3 separate regions of the Homo sapiens genome follow, and regions 2 and 3 are each linked to region 1. The links are contacts of gene promoters, found by promoter capture Hi-C in blood cells and fetal thymus (Javierre and others, 2016). All regions are on one chromosome and are shown on one strand. Each heading gives the region's core, a stretch centred on a gene start or on the middle of the fragment in contact. The rest is flanking DNA. Distances are from core to core; before and after follow the strand shown. Region 1 holds the start of PSMD6-AS1 (PSMD6 antisense RNA 1). Region 2 overlaps SLC25A26 (solute carrier family 25 member 26). Region 3 overlaps SLC25A26 (solute carrier family 25 member 26).

Region 1 (3,557 bases), core at 575-3,074:
GTAGATTCTGTAATCCAGGTTATGTCAGCTTCCTAAAAAAGAGTAACTTCCTGCCTTATATGGTTACTTGTTTCTGAGGGAAAGCTTATTACACATTTTCTTTATCTTCTATCTTTTGTATACTAAAAGTGGGAGACACTGTTTGTTTAATTTTAGGCCACTACTCTTCTTTCTAAAATCGGGAAGCTTACAGGTAAGAGATTTAAAGGTAAGCGATAATGGGCTGTGTCAACATCCGTATTTTACTGACGTATTTTACTGATGAGGCAGTCAGGAGCTGAACCTAGCTGAACCCAGCTGCAACCTTACCCTATAAACCAGATTTTCATTAATGAATAATTCAAGTGACATTATTTTAACATAAGTGGACCCGATTCTAGAAGGCCTATGTGTTTAAGAAAAAAATAAATGGAAAGAAACAACAATGCAGTATTTATTTTATACAGCTGACCTGGGCACATTGTGAAGTAAGCTATAAAAATTCCAAATAATTATCTCTAAAGCAAATCCTTTGTTAGTTACATGGCTTTACATATTAATTACTCTGGAAAGTTTTTGAACTCTGTTTAGTAGCAGATCTCCTTTCTTGATAGTTTCTTGGTACTGCCAGTTCTTGCTATCAGGTCTATAAATAAATTCAAGAAAAAATGAATTATTTACCAGTCACATTATTCCATGACAATAGTTGACCTACTTTTAAAATTTAGGAATGCCCCTTATTCTGAGAAATGAGAGTACCTGTTGGTTTCTACTATTTCATTCACTTTATCTATTTTGCAGTGTAGTCTCCCGGCAGCAATAAACCTGGACAGTTCCCTAATTTAGAGACAAAAAATAACAGAATTAGCTTTATAGAAAATTCTTAGAAAAATGCAAACGGCATTAAAATACTGTCTTAAATTTGTAACAAACATTTAGCTTCCCTTCAAGCTTGTTATTGCACATGCAGTAGTTGACGTTGTCCCTCCTATACTGCAGGCTTTAAGTCATCATCTACTAGAATAAACATGATCCTAGAAGTTCATATTCAGATAGATAGAAAGTAGATCAAACAATGAAACCATATGTACTCAGAGAAAAACTGTAGGTTAGGAAAAATTAGGGACCAAAACTGATAAAAACAGTAAACTGTTTCAAACAAAAGACCTAAAACAAAATTATGGAACACAGCCCATCAGTAAACATGTCAACAGCAATAGTATTAACATGTCAACAGCAATAGTATTTACTAAAACAACGACCCTTTCCCTCTCTAACATATCTTAGTCTAAACAAGTGGAAGGGAAGGGGAGAAATGATGTAGAATTATTGCTTTGCCCATTTTAAAAAAGGGGATTTCATCTAAAATGTAACTTTTTAAGGGAGAAAAAAAGAATAAAGAATCCATGACAACCCAGATTTGAAATTCTTAGGTATCACAGAAATTTAAAACAAGGCCTTTTTAGGTAACAACAACTAGAGCTCAGTGGTACAACCTTTGCCTCTCAAGCTGGTCTTAGAACATGAAGGGAAAAAAAAAAAACTGAACAAATACTACCTGAATTCAACTACTACCTGAAAGGTACCAGCTGCCTTGCATTCACTTGTCATCAAGATGACTTAAGGAATACTGCGGTGTGTGCCCCTAACTAATGAAGGCTTTATCTCCACATTACAGTTACGATACTGAAGAGACGTAACCTGACCAAGGCCACAGAGCTGGAAAAAGAAGCAAAGCCAAGCCGTTTTTCTCATGCACTGCTCACAACAAGCCCCTCCTTCCACTGACTCATGAAAAACACACTCATAATGCCCAGCCCGCACCCTAATGAACAGCCCTCTTAAGAGTGGTCATCAGACTTCAATTTCACAGACTAGAATTGAGAAATGGAACAAAACCTTGGGATACCAGCCTTCCATTTTGGTAGGGATCATTTAAAAAATGGTAGGGATCATTTAAAAAATGTGTTGGTGTCTGAAACTTACTTTGAAGTGGTTAAAAAACATAAAATGTATAGATTGTAACAAGCAAATATGTTAAAATGTACTGTACAATTCTTTCTTTACAATTTTATGGATGTTCGAAATTTAAAAAATACTAGAAAGAGAATGGTCTTATTTAAAAGAAATGCATCTTCATTTAAAGTTTCCACTGCAGACCATTGAAAACACCATCATCAACATTTAAAAACACCTACATGTGGGAGCCACTGATCTAGATGCCATCTGGACATCCCATATTGAGTATGTCTCCTACCCAACTCTACTCTCACCACCCTCGTCCACGCCACGGTAACATCTCCTCTAAGAGCTACTAAACAGCACAACTGGTCCTCTCTGCCACCTTACTCTATTTCTTATATAAAGACACTGCATAGGACCATGTAACTTGGGCTCTAAATCTTCCAATGGCTCCCTATCAAACTTACTTAAAACTCAAGCTCCATCCCATGACCTACAAGGCCCTACACAAATCATTACCTACCTAACTCTCCATATATTATCCTCAAAATCTCCTACCACTCCAACTATGCTGGAGCCACCCTGACATTTTCTGTTCCTACAACATCCAAGCTTATTCCTGGCTCAAAGCCTTAGCCTTTTCTATTCCCTTTTCTGCACGCAGAAGGACTCCATATGGCTGACTCCTCTCAATTCAAATCTCAGAGCAAACCTCACCTCCTTAAGCATGCCGTACGTAAGGATAGCATTTTCTCATCTCCATAGGTTCATTTCTATATGTGAAATTACGTTTTATATTTATTTGCTTCCTTGCCATCTCTTCCCTACTACTACAATGAAAGTGTGAAAAGGGAGCTGTAAAACAATACCAAACATATAGTAATGAATGGCTCATTAAGTATTTATTTGTTTAATCACTGATGCAAGTACTAAAAGTCCCACATTTAACAACCAATCTGACCAGAATTGCAGCAGCAACCTAAAAACTGGAAGGAATTATCAGAGGGAATATGACCAACTGTAAATATCAGATCTAAGAGTCATTACCGTAGCTGCAGTGTGGTCTACAAAGAAGTAACAGAAGACAACTTTTGATAACAACTGGTCTAATGACCTTTAACAAATCACTTAGCCTCACTACAACTCATCTTCCCATCTGTTAATGCAAGGGGCAGACATGACATGAGGAAGGCAGAGGCAACAGGATACGAATGTTTTGATAATACTGAGGAAAAAAACCTCTCCCCTCCCCGTTAAGATTGAGGGAACCAATGTAAACAAGTAAAAAATTGTACAAGTTCACATATTTTAAAAGGCAACTTTAAAACTTCAATTAACATGGCATTATTCAAACTTACTGATCAATGAATTCCACACCAACACCAAACGCTTCTGCCATATAGCCAAGGGTTAATGACCTATATGATTCCAGCAGCTGACTGTATGCATGAATTCTCATTTCTCTTACATAGTATCGATAATGAGGGGCAAAAAGCCAGTCCTTTTTCATTTCCTGTTCCACAACCGCTGCAATGAATAAAATGACAAATTATAATAGACTCTCCGTTTCAGATAAAAAGATTAAAAACTAAAGCAACACTACTAGTTGAGTCCAA
Region 2 (3,557 bases), core at 359-2,858, 2.3 Mb after region 1:
GTTGCAGTGAGCCAAGATCGTGCCATTGCCCTCCAGCCTGGTCAACAACAGTGAAACTCCATCTCAAAAAAAAAAAAAAAAAAAAGAATGTCTGGCATTAATTCTAGAACTGAGATGCTCTTTTGCTTAGTAAAGTCATTTTTTCTTTTTGATCATTAAGCTACATGAGGTTTTGTAATGCATTCCATTTGTGGCTGTTCTTTATCAAAATATTACTATAACAGTAGCTTCCTTAGTACATCAGACATCAGGACACTGAAGGTCTAGTTGCAGTTTTGCCACTCGCTATCTTGTGCCTTTTGAAGTTGTTTAATCTCTCTGGGTATTGATTTCCTTTTTTAAAAAATAGTTGGTAAACTATGACCTGTGGGCCTAATCCAGATCACAGCCTGTTTTTGTAATAAAGCTTTATTGGCATGCAGCCACTTTCTTTCATTTATGTATTGTCTGTCTGCTTTCACACAACAGTGGCAGAGTTGAGTAGTTGTAACAGAGACTGTATGGACCATAAAGCCTAAGCTATTTATTATCTGACTCTTTACAGAAAAAGTTTTCTGAATCCTAGACTAGATCATCTTTGAGGGCTGTGCTGTGCCTTAGATTAGATTTCCTTTTTGTCAATTTCTCTTTAATTCTAAGTTCTCAAAAGATGTCTGTCTTTAAAGGATATAGCATATCATTTCCTCGTTATCAAATTTGCAAATTATGAAAAGAAGGAAAATACTGAGTAGATCATTGGTTCCCAAAGTACAGTCCCTCCACGAATAGCAGCTGCATTCCCTAGGAACTTGCTAGAAATGCAGAATCTAAGTCCCCACTTGAGATCTTCTGAATCAGAAACTTGGGGTGAGGCCCAGAATTTGTGTTATACACCCTCTGCATGATTCTGATGCATTCTGAAGTGTGAGAACCACTGGACTAGGTGATACAAAGTTCAGTTAACAGATTTTCTTCTGTTTTGAAAAAAAGAAGAGCTTAAATACCAAAACCATTTGATAGGTATATCAGGAGGAAAATGAAATGTTGGATATTATTACTAAGCTGGTGAAATTAATATTTTCTCTAGTAAAACTCCTTGTCATAAATTGTGGATAAGTTTTAATATAATGAGAAATTTCTGAGAGGTACATCTGTGTCACTTTCAGCATATTTTTAATGGACAGAAAAGTAAATATGATTTATTTCTTTGTGGGGTTTTCTTTTTTTGGTGGGAGATCACTTTGAATTATTTCAAAACTGATGATTTGTAATAAACAGTTTTCAGAATAAAAGAATTACATTAAGAATTAATTTGCTTGTGAAGAAAGTGTCTTAAGAAAAGAGCATTTAAGGGGCACAGCAGCCTCTGCTGTAGCTGGATTTCTTACCCATTTTAAGTGACATCAGTGTTGAATTGACTTTTTCCTCAGTGCTAAAAGCTGCTAGAAATGAGCACCAGTCACACTACTGATCTGTGTTAGGAAAGATCACAAACACAGTACTTTGTAATAAATGTCAGAGGAATAGCAAAATTGTACATGTCAAGAAAGCATTACAGGATGACGTTGCTATTTGGAGAATTGCTTTCATCTTTGAGATATCTCACACCTGCTTCATTTGGCATAGGTTGTTTCTATTTCATGAAAAACAGTCTTTTCCCTCCCCCAGATCCCAAGTTACATAGAAACAGTATGCTAACAAGGGAAAAATTTTAACATAAAAACTCACTTGAAGGTGCCATCTAAAAACTCAGTGTGTAAACTTAGTTAACTAACTTTATTTTGTTGAAAAGGGACCCTTGGTTTGTGTGTGTGTATGTGTGTGTACACATGAATACGTACCTATGTATACATTTGTTACTGTGTGTGTGTTTATATATGTATGTATACAGTTCATTTGATGTGCGTGTATATGCACCCATTTCCATGTATGTATTTAAAAGAATACATACAACAAACTTTTTTTTTGAGGCAAAGTTTCCCTCTGTCACCCAGGCTGGAGTGCAGTGGCACAGTCTCGACTCACTGCAACCTCCGCCTCCTGGGTTCCAAGCGATTCTCATGTCTCAGCCTCCCGAGTAGCTGGGACTACAGATGTGTGCCACCATGCCTGGCTAATTTTTGTGTTAGTAGAGACTGGGTTTTGCTGTGTTGGCCAGGCTGGTCTTGAAGTCCTGGCCTCAAGTGATCTGCTCACCTCAGCCTCCGAAAATGCTGGGATTATAAGTGTGAGCCGATGTGCTTGGCAAACAAACTTTTGTATATATAATCCTTTCATACTAATATTTAACTACTTGTAAAAACTATGTTAACCCCCAGTCACTAACACAGTTCCGTAGTCCATATTTATTATTGCTTCTTTCACTTTTCTCCTTTCTTCATGCATGAAAATATAATGTGATCCAAGGGGGTATGTGTGCATGAGGTGTGTGTTTATAGAGTAACAGTTAAATGTCTCGAAATAAACTGATTTGGATTTTTAGGTTATAGATGTTTTTGTTTTTTATTAAACGTCTTGATTGTTTGACTGTCATGGTTGTTTGTATAACTCCTTGAGAAACTTCCACATGCGGGTAGTTTTTGAAAAAGAAAATATTTATTTGCTTCAGTTTTTCAGGGGATGGTATCATACTGCTTTTTCACATTTTATGGGTGACATATTTGGCTATCTCTGGGCAAAAATCCAGTTAAAAATAATAGTATTTAATATTTAATAAACTACCAGGCTTTTGAGCCATCTGGAACTTTATTTTCTTTGCACGCAGCATCTGAGTTTCAGCTGTTAGCGTTTCTCCTTTGCTCTGGGAAGGGTCAATTGCTTTTAAAGTCTTTGAAGCTTGCTGTGTCAGCCCTTTTCATATTTTCAAAATGCCCGTGTAAAAGGGTTTTTCATCCATTCATGCTGATAAGTCTTTTGAACTTGAGGTTTGAACCAAGCTAATCAAATTTAATTATAGCTTAAATCCCGTTACAGTGAACTCCAGTGGACTTCTAGGCTAGGGTTTTTTTGTTTTGTTTTTTTTTTTTTTTTTGGTGTTATACTGGAATTTAGCCATTACCAATATTACTTGAAGTGAGCAGGCCATTGACTGCAGTTTGGGAGACCTTTTGTAATGGTCAGATTTTAGTTATAGTGACATTGGCAATATGATTTGAACTTTATTCTTTTCCAAAGGAAATAATTGAATTAGCCACAAGTAAAATTTCTTGTTCTTTGCATATATTTCAAATTACCTTTTCCTATTTGTCTTAAACAATTTTGAACAATTAAAATCTTAAAAGTACTTTCTTAAAGAGTCCTTTGGTGGTGGTGTCGCTGATGCTCGTTTTTTGTTTTTAAGATCCATAACAGAATAAGGATTTATATACATCCTCCTAGGGATAATGTCATGGTTTCTGCATATTTGCATAGCATTTTGAGAGAGACTTTTTCCTTTTTGCTTCATGAAAAAAAGTTTGAGCAGTATAATTTTCTAGAAAGAAGGAAATATAAATATTTTAGACTGTAGCATATACTAAAGGGAGGTGGACTAGTACTGATATTTTTAGTGCTTTCTTCAAAATGATTGCTAACACGTG
Region 3 (3,557 bases), core at 478-2,977, 2.2 Mb after region 1:
AAGCTGCAGAGGAGGTAGCTTAGGGTCAGTAGGTTGAGGTTCTTAGTTACCGTTTGCTGAGTGGCTTCTATATATCAAGTACAACCAGTAAATTAGAGATTTTTTTTTTCCCCAGGGGAAGCATGAATTTTGAATGGCTTAGCTTTTATATATTTGTAATATTCATTACAAAACTTGAGCAAATAAAAAATTAACAAGGTTGTTTAAAAAATTAATAATTCTTGTTATTTAAAATTGTTAAAAATTATTTAAAAATTAATTGTTAAAAAATTAACAAGAAATATTATTAACAGTAGTATTTCTCATCCTGAATCTCTTTCCACAGAGGCAATAATTTCTAGCAATTTACTGTTTATGTTCCAGACTTCTAATTATGCATATACAAATAGTTACACATTTTAAAAGATGGGATTATATAGCATATATTGTTTTATAGCTAATTTGATTAATTTAAGAATATAGTGTATGTTTCTGTGCCAATAAGTATGGGTTTACCTCATTTTTTTTTTTTTTTTGATTAGAGACAGGATCTTGCTCTGTTGCCCAAGCTAGAGTGCAGGGCAGTGGCGTGATCATAGCTTACTGCAACCTCAAACTCCTGGGCCCAAGTGAGCATCCCACCTCAGCCTCCCAGCAGCTAGGACTACAGACATGAGCCACTGCACCCAGCCTACCTTGTTGTTTTAAAGGCTATGTAGCAATTCATTATTTGTGTATAGCTTAATTTACTTAACAGGGCCCCAGTGGATGGACTTTTAGGTTGTTTTCAATTTTTTATTATTACAGAAATGCTGTAGTAGACATTCTTGTATATTTGTGCATTTATTTCTGTGGAAGAAATGCTTAGTAATAACTGGATCAAAGGTTTGATAATTTAAAATGTTCATTTTGCCAAATTGTCCTCCAGTAGATTATGGTAATGTTTTCGTTAACAGTGCCTGTACCCATTCTTCATATTTTTAATTTTTTTCTAATTGGGAAAACATTTTGTTTTTATTTGATAATGACAGAGAATCATATTTTCATATTTTTGTTAGTCATTTATATTTTTCTTTTGGGAATTGCCTGGTCCTGTCTTTTGCTATTTTTGAAAAAAATTCAGTGTACCTTTTTAAGGTTGATTTGTAGTGCCTTCTAAAATATAGATAGTAACCCTTTATTAGAGCCATTGAATGCCTCCTATTAATATGTGCTGGTGCTGGAAACATATTAGTAAACAAAACAGATATAGATCTTGTGGTTTAATTGGACTGGTACTGAACAAATGGTCAGAGGCAAAACTATGTAATTAAAATTGTGTTCAGTGCTTGGAAACAACAAGATCTAAACCTGAACTGGAGATTAGGGGGCATCTGTACAAACTCCTTGAAATGAGGAAGATCAGATGATTTAGAGGAAAAGATCCAGGTGGAAAGAAAGGACTGAACAAAGGGCACATAGTGCGAGTTTTGGGAGTTGGAGGGGCTCCAGAACCTCCAGAGCCTGGAAGGCTGTGCTAGGATTTTCTTCTTCATCCTCGGGGCTGTTGGAAAGTTTGGAAGATTTATAGGCTGGAGAGTGGCAAGATGAAATTTGGATTTTATGAAAATGATTAGTACAGAGAGGCAGCGAGCACTGCAGGGAGAATGAATGGGAAGTGGGGAAGACGACAGGTATGTCAGAAAGCAGAGGTGGCAGTTCTGCAGTGAGGAAGATGGTGGTTCAAGTCATGGGTGGCAACTTCATGGTGGAGGAAACCGAGACTGTCGGGAATGTTTCCCTTGAGAAGCCATGTTAATGTTATGGCTGGCTCTTCTTAGCTGTCGTTTAGGCCAGTGGCCTCTATTAATTTTGCTTAGTTACATTACACAGATGGTTTGGTTTTGCCCTAGAGGGGAGCAGCAATGCTGTTTTTATGGTGTGCCCTCCTCCTTTTGAGAAAAAAAGTTTTATAGCATGTAATTCTGACCTATAACTTCTCAGAGTAATTGCAGAGCACTAATTGGGCACTTCCTCTCTACAGTCTGCCAACACTTCATACGTTTATTAACTTAAGGTAGAGACATGTATTTTATCTATAAGATATTGAGGTCTCGATACATTGTGATGCTGTAGCAAGGTTTGCTGGTTATCTGGGTTATGTCCTATTTCTTTGGATTTTTTTCTAGTTAGAACTTTTCGGTATAAGCTACCATAAATTATGAAATGAATCACTTGCCTGATAACTTTCTGATAGATGATTATAGCAAAATAACATTTTCAGGCTAAAGAATAAAAGAGTTTGATGGAGTTCTTTATAATTAGGTTGTTACTGGCTTATATATTTTTTACATAATTACATACAAAACAATATTGATATAGGCATTCCTTAAGGATTTTGTTTAAATCTGAAATATGTGGTTGTGTGGATAAATATATAGGTATTCTTATTCTTCAGGTTCTCTGTTAGCTGTTTTTCTTTTTTTTCAGTCGCATGAATTTAAATGACATTTGAGTTATATAGAAGTTTGAAATCGATAGAAGCGTTTAGTAATCCTTGAGTGATGTTTTACCAGACAAGTAAATTGAATCTGGTCATTTTTTTCCTCAGAAGATAATAATTGTGATGAAAGAAGGGTTAGAGAATCAATACATGTAAGGTAGCCAACTAGATTGAAAGAGTAATTATTGATTAAAATTTAGCAGTAGATAGCACTTCTCTGAATTCTCTCCTAAGATTAAAGAGAAAATTAGAGTGAAGTGCAGCATGTTTTTAAATAATCTAGTCGCACGAGACATTTTCGCCAGGGTTCTATTCTCTCTGTATTTTGAGAAAACGAGGAGGCATGCAAAATATTTGCCTACCAAATTATTATTAGAGATGAGTCTCCCTGTGTTGCCCAGGCAGGAGCGTGGTGGCTATTCATGGGCATAATCATAGCTCACTGTAATCTCAAATTCCTGGGCTCAAGCGATCCTCCTGCCTCAGCCTCCCAGGTAGCTGGGATTACAGGTACATACCACCATGCCCGGCTCTACTTACTGAATTTTATAAAAATCCTGAAACAAGAATTAAGAAGAGTTTTGACAATTGGCCTTTTTACTTTCCTACATTACTTGTGAACTTTTTCCCATGACTTAGGGAAGGCCACCTTTATATCCAGAAAGAAATCCCACGTTATTGGATATTCTTTTGGTACTACTTGGTTTCTCTACTGGCACATCTCTGTGCCCTTTTGGGTGACGTCTTCTTAGGTAATTTGCAGATTAGAACTTCAGGGTCTTTGGGCTTCTTTAATGTCTTTGGGCTGATCATGAAGTATAGTATTACTATTTATAGTAATGTACTTGTCTAGTGTAAATTAATTTTTAATAATTAACCTGTGCTAGTTAATTTGAAAATAGGTATTGGATTTATCATTAAAGTATTTCATTTTTCAAGTTAACTCCTGGGATGGTTTTATGGTGAGCGGTAAGTAAAGCAGATAGTATTTGCTAGGTACCAAGCTTTGTAGCATTGCACATTTTGTAAACTCGAAGGATGGAAACAATCAGTTTGAAGTTCAATTGTATGTTTGAATAATACTGATGATCTTTTT

Evidence for each region. Contacts are between HindIII fragments. The CHiCAGO score rates a contact against its expected background, and 5 or more counts as called.
Region 2: a fragment that was not itself captured here is called in contact with the fragment with the promoter of PSMD6-AS1 in region 1 in 1 of 17 cell types (total CD8 T cells); the score reaches 5.2 in total CD8 T cells.
Region 3: a fragment that was not itself captured here is called in contact with the fragment with the promoter of PSMD6-AS1 in region 1 in 1 of 17 cell types (total CD8 T cells); the score reaches 5.4 in total CD8 T cells.

Annotation. Positions count from the first base shown.
Region 1 is chr3:64,010,140-64,013,696 of GRCh38, forward strand. PSMD6-AS1 (PSMD6 antisense RNA 1) reads left to right here and starts at 1,825. Exons shown (of 2, transcript NR_189168.1): 1 at 1,825-1,903. PSMD6 (proteasome 26S subunit, non-ATPase 6) reads right to left here. Exons shown (of 8, transcript NM_014814.3): 6 at 3,300-3,468; 7 at 739-816; 8 at 412-625. The coding sequence ends at 529. PSMD6-AS2 (PSMD6 antisense RNA 2) reads left to right here. Exons shown (of 3, transcript NR_038286.1): 3 at 1,658-2,104. The HindIII fragment of the contact is 1,623 bases long and covers 929-2,551 here.
Region 2 is chr3:66,297,264-66,300,820 of GRCh38, forward strand. All of the region lies in intron 5 of SLC25A26 (solute carrier family 25 member 26), which reads left to right. Among named protein-coding and RNA genes, the nearest start is that of SLC25A26, 78 kb to the left of the region's middle. The HindIII fragment of the contact is 2,408 bases long and covers 405-2,812 here.
Region 3 is chr3:66,231,265-66,234,821 of GRCh38, forward strand. The region is part of intron 1 of SLC25A26 (solute carrier family 25 member 26); the gene reads left to right. Among named protein-coding and RNA genes, the nearest start is that of SLC25A26, 12 kb to the left of the region's middle. The HindIII fragment of the contact is 3,472 bases long and covers 1-3,463 here.